Regions from separate parts of the Homo sapiens genome. Here region 1 is linked to region 2. The links are contacts of gene promoters, found by promoter capture Hi-C in human tissues and cell types (Jung and others, 2019). All regions are on one chromosome and are shown on one strand. Each heading gives the region's core, a stretch centred on a gene start or on the middle of the fragment in contact. The rest is flanking DNA. Distances are from core to core; before and after follow the strand shown.

The links. The method cuts DNA at HindIII sites, captures the fragments that hold promoters and counts their contacts. A contact is called where the count stands out against the background at its distance.
Region 1: the fragment with the promoter of ITGB4 here is called in contact with the fragment with the promoter of MYO15B in region 2 in 4 of the 25 tissues and cell types used here (liver, lymphoblastoid cells, mesenchymal stem cells and 1 more).

Annotation. Positions count from the first base shown.
Region 1 is chr17:75,720,062-75,722,894 of GRCh38, forward strand. ITGB4 (integrin subunit beta 4) reads left to right here and starts at 1,398. Exons shown (of 40, transcript NM_000213.5): 1 at 1,398-1,551. RefSeq lists silencers at 961-1,020, 1,031-1,420 and enhancers at 1,141-1,679, 1,680-2,218. The HindIII fragment of the contact is 11,256 bases long and covers 1-2,833 here.
Region 2 is chr17:75,586,550-75,589,049 of GRCh38, forward strand. It overlaps MYO15B (myosin XVB), which reads left to right and starts at 1,251. Exons shown (of 64, transcript NM_001395058.1): 1 at 1,251-2,500. The coding sequence starts at 1,509. RefSeq lists enhancers at 1,067-1,900, 1,403-1,472, 1,901-2,500 and a silencer at 2,353-2,482. The HindIII fragment of the contact is 22,601 bases long and covers 1-2,500 here.

The DNA.
Region 1 (2,833 bases), core at 148-2,647, 130 kb after region 2:
AAAAGCCATGGCCCAAGGGTTATGGGGACACATAAACCAACTTGGGGTGTGGAGAGGTCAAGGAAGGCTCTCTAGCACGTGGTTGGTGCAACGTCTTCAAGGACAAGAAGGATAAACTGGGCTCAATGTCATGGGAAGGGACCAGCCTGTTGAAAAAGCACGGTGGCTTGAAACCGCATGGTTTGGACAGTGCTGTGCCAGCAGTCTGGTGTTGTTTGGCATTGCTGGCCAGTAAGCCTAGAGAAAAATGGAGCCCTGGCTGGGCATGGTGGTTCACGCCTATAATCCCAGCACTTTGGAAGGCCAAGACGGGTGGATCACCTGAGGTCAGGAGTTCGAGACCAGCCTGGCCAACATGATGTACTAAAAATACAAAAATTAGCCGGGCGTGGTGGCGGGCACCTGTAATCCCAGCTACTCGGGAAACAGGCAGGAGAAGCGCTTGAACCCGGGAGGCAGAGGTTGCAGTGAGCCAAGATTGCACCACTGCACTCCAGCCTCGGCGACAGAGTGAGACTCCATCTAAAAAAAAAAAGAGAGAGAAAACAAAAAGAAAAAGAAAAATGAAGCCCTTCTCTGACCTGAACACCCGTGGTAAGCAGTGGCAATGGAGAGACTGCTCTCAGAGGACTGACGGGAGGGAGGGGCCAGCTCTGTAACCAGCTTGTTAAGAACAACTGTAACAAGGCATCGAGTGCCAATCCATGCCAGGTCGGCACTGACCTCTCCAGGGTATCACTGTTCACACTGTAAGGAGATTTAAGTAGCTTGTTGAAGGGTGCACCGAGGACCCGACCCTTCCTCGGCTCTCCCTCTGGATACAACGTGAGGTTAGGGGTTGGAGGCTGAGAGGACCCCGTGAACTGCAGAGCAGAGCTGGGACGGGGAGTCAGGCCTCCCGACCGGGCCGGGGGCACTCCCTGGGCCCATGCCTCGCGCTGGCACGGAGAGCGGGGAGGGGGGTACGCGGCTGACGACCGTCGGGGCAGCAGCAGCAGCACAGCCCGGCGTTGGCTAGCGGCCCAGAGTCGGGGCAGGGAGGGTTCCCGTGCGGACGGGGGCTAAGAGGCCGCCTCCAGCCCGGGGCAGTCCGCGCACCCGAGCCTGGAGCCCGGAGCCTGGAGGGGTGGGGAGGCCCCGCGCCCAGGGCCGGACCGGAGGGAGAGGGAGAGCGGTGGCTCCTCCCCCGGCCCCCGCCGCTAGCCGATCGGGGCGCTGGGCGGGCGCCGCGGGAGCCGCAGCCCTTTCCGGGGGGCGGACCCGGCTCCGGCGGCGGCACCCAGCTCCTGCCCCGACAGGTGCGCGCCGCGCGAAGGAATGCAGCCGGTCTGACTCACCAGCGCCTCCTTCCTACCTGCGCGCCCGCCCCATAAAGCGCTGCCCGCCTCGTCCCCACCCCCCCAACCCCCGCGCCCGCCCTCGGACAGTCCCTGCTCGCCCGCGCGCTGCAGCCCCATCTCCTAGCGGCAGCCCAGGCGCGGAGGGAGCGAGTCCGCCCCGAGGTAGGTCCAGGACGGGCGCACAGCAGCAGCCGAGGCTGGCCGGGAGAGGGTGAGTGCCCGCCCCAGCTGGGCAGCCGCGCAGGGGAGCTGGTCGGGCAGGGCCGGTGGCTTTTGTCTCCCCTTCCCCTCCCTGAAGGCTGACAGGCCCCGGTCCCTCTGTCCACGCTGCGCAGGACAGGTGCCCAGCCTCCCCGGGGTGCGCCGGGGGCAGCTGGCAGCCAAGGGGCAGGGCAGCTAGAGAAGGGTGGTGCCCATCAGACCTCCAGGCCAGAGGAGCGCCTTGGGTGCGCCTGCGGGAGAAGTGGGCAGAGGCCAGTGGCTGGTAGCCCTCTGGGGCTGGGCCCCTCCAGGGTTTGCAAAGAAGGTGGAGTAGACACCAGCCTGAGTGCTGGGCCCAGCCCATCATGGCGCATCTAATGATAAACCAACATTCCTGACTTTTATGTGAAATTTCGTTCTTTCTAACATTGGCTCCTACTTTTAAAAGCCACCCTGAGAGGCAGACGCCATCCCGGCTCCAGGCAGGGCTTGCTCTATGCGGTGCCACAGTCCATCTGGGGCTGGGGAGTCCCTGATTTTCCTTTTCTCTTGGCCAAGCACAGGCCTGCCTTCCTCCCAAAGTCAGCCCCAGGCGCCTTCCTTCAGGAAGCTCTACAGGCCTCACCCACCAGCCCCAGGGCTGTGCCCAACACTGCCACCTCCTGCAGCATCCGCCCTCTTTCCCATGGCTCAGCCTCTGGGGTGGCCCTCTGGCTGGGACTGGGGCTCTGGGGCTCCTGGTGACTCCCAGGAGCAGGGACAGGGCTTCTCCTCTGCCCCCATGGCCTTGCCACACCCTGAGGACAAGGACCAGGCACAGGTGGCATGGTTGTTGCTGTCCGAAACAGAGCTGGCAGTGAAGGCTTGGAGTCTCCATCCTGGGGGCTGAGGGAAGGACAGCAGGAGGGACAGGAGGGGAGGTATGTCTGTCTACTCGACCCTGATTTCTCAGGGAGACAGAACAGCCAAGGGCCTGGGGTCCCCAGACTTCTGGCCAGCTGCCTCTCTGGGGCGAGGAAGGGCCTGGGTCCCTGAGGGGAGGAGATGTGACAGCGGGAGAGGATAGTGGACAGGAGCAGGTGTGCCCAGAGGGGTCCCCAGGGGTTGGGATGGGGGCCAGGGGAGCTCTGAGCCTGTGGGTGGGTGGGCATGGCCTGTGTGTGTGTGTGTGTGTGTGTGTGTGTGTGTGTCCCTGTGGGGGGGAAACTGCCTGTGCTGCAGTGTGATGGCATTCAGGGTGGCAGTCACACACTCCAGGGACCTGCTGGTACATAAAGTCGGGGCAGCCTGGT
Region 2 (2,500 bases), core at 1-2,500:
GCATGTGCCACCACACCTAGGTAATTTTTGTATTTTTAGTAGAGATGGGGTTTCACCATGTTGGCCAGGCAGATCTCGAACTCCTGACATCAGGTGATCCACCCACTTCGGCCTCCCAAAATGCTGGGATTACAGGCATGAGCCACCTCACTTGGCCAGGATCCACTTTGGATGTAGAAACCCATCAATAAGGAATTGGTTCAACCATGGTGCATTTATTTGCAAGGAAGAGAGGGAGGAGAGAAGGGAGGAAGGCAGGCTGGCTTTTTATGGTATTATTATGAAATCACCAGATTACATTGTTAAGTGAAAAAGGCAAAGTGGAGACCCCGGAGCTACATAAGCTACCACTTGTGCTAAAGGGGAAAAATATAATATTTGCTTTTCTCTGCATGGAAAGTTTTTGTTGTTGTTTCTTTGTTTTTGAGACAAACAAAATGCTGTCACCCAGGCTGGAGTGCAGTGGTGTGATCTCAGCTCACTGCAAGCTCTGCCTCCTGGGTTCATGCCATTCTCTCCTGCCTCCTGGGTTCATGCCATTCTCTTGCCTCAGCCTCCCGAGTAGCTGGGACTACAGGCGCCCCCCACCACGACCGGCTAATTTATCGTATTTTTTAGTAGAGACGGGGGTTTCACCATGTTAGCCAGGATGGTCTCCATCTCCTGACCTCGTGATCCGCCCTCCTTGGCCTCCCAGAGTGCTGGGATTACAGGCGTGAGCCACCGCGCCCGGCCAACCTGGAAAATTTTGCAAGGAAATACAGAAATGGGTAACCTCAGGGGAACACTGAGTACATAGGCTGAGGGTCAGGAATGGGAGACTTTTATCTTGTAATGTTTGGATGTTTGAATTATGTGAATGTATTACCTGTTTTAAAAATAGATATTTTAAAAACACACACATTGGGGCAATCAGGAATGTATGGGGTGTGGTTCTGTTCCACAACTCCAAGGAGGTAGACAGGCATGTTTTACACCAGTTCAAGATGTACATTTATGTTTTATGTACTTTTCGGTAAATTGTATTTATTCCACAATTGAAAAGAACAAAAACCCTAGCGACTCATGGAGTGCTGCCGTGTGCCAGGGTGGGCCTGGCCCCAGTCCCTTGGAACCCTCAGAAGGAAGAAGTCCAGACAGGTTCTCTGGGCCCTTCCTTGCTGGGCAAGCACTGAGGTGGGAGTGGAGCATGGACCCCCTCAGTCTGGCGCGGTGCGAGGCTGGCCTGGCTGGCAGCGCCTCCCGGCGGCACTGTTGCCCTGTCCGCAGCTGTAGCGTCTCCTGTTTCCTGGGCGCCTCTATTCCATTGTTGGCCGAGGGGGTCAGGACCCGCCGCCTTCTGCATTATTGATGGTCCTGTAAGGCGGGCACCTCGGGGAGTAGAGCCTGTAGCCCCTGCGAGAGCAGAGCCGGGTGGTGCACTGCACAGAAGGTCACCGCGGGAGGCCAAATCCCCGGGGAGGGGAAAGGACCTGGGCGTCGGGAAGCCCGTCTCCTTTGGGCCAGCCATGGGCAGGAACCAGCGCAAAGCGCCCCAGCGCCTGGAGAGGCCCGGGAGGCCGGCCTCAGGGGAGCAGGAGTCGGGGTCGGCCAGCGCGGATGGCGCGCCCAGCCGGGAACGCCGTTCCGACCGCGGGCAGGCGGACAGGGCGAAACCGGCGGCCGAGCCTGCCACCGCCGGGGGCCAGGGAACCCCTGGTGGCCGCAGGAAGCCCACTGCAGAGGGGAACGGCGGCTGCAGACGCCCAGGGGCTGGGCTGTCCCCGAAAGCCCAGGAGAGGCAAAGCAACGCGCAGCGTCAGGGACGCGGGCCCAGGGGCGGCCGCGGGGGGCGCCTGGAGGAGGGAAGCCTCTCCGGAGGAGAAGAGCTGGGCGGCCGCCGTAGGAGGAAGCGGAAAGATAAGGGGCCCTCGGCTCGGCGGGGCCGCCGGACGCCCAGGAGCCTCAATGGGGACACGTCGGGTGGGGACGGAGGCAGCTCCTGTCCGGACAGCGAAACCCGCGAGGCCCAGGAGAGCGGCAGCCAGCGCGGCACAGCCCGGGAGCTGCGGCCCACGCCGGAGCCTACGGACATGGGCTCGGAAGGGACAAAAACCGGGCCGGAGTCAGCGCTGGAGCCAAGCAGCGACGGCCTGGACAGCGACTGGCCCCACGCAGATACCCGGGGCCGGGAAGGGTCGTCGGGGACGGGGCCCCTGGGAGCCAGCGAGCATTCCGGCGGGGACTCCGACTCGAGTCCGCTGGGGACCGGACCTGGACGGGGCTCTCGGGCAGCTATGGCCTCCAGGACCTTCGAGGACAGCTCGCGGGCTCCTCGGGACACTGGGCCGGCCAAGGACGCGAGCGACAACCGGGCGCAGCGGGGCGCCGAGCCAGAAACAATGCAGGCCTCGACGGCCCGGGCTCCGCGCCACCAGGTCGGAAAGGCGGTGGGGCAGGTGCCAGCGGCGGCAGGCGAGGGCGAAGCGGGAGCCGCAGCAGGAGCGGGGCCGGAGGACCC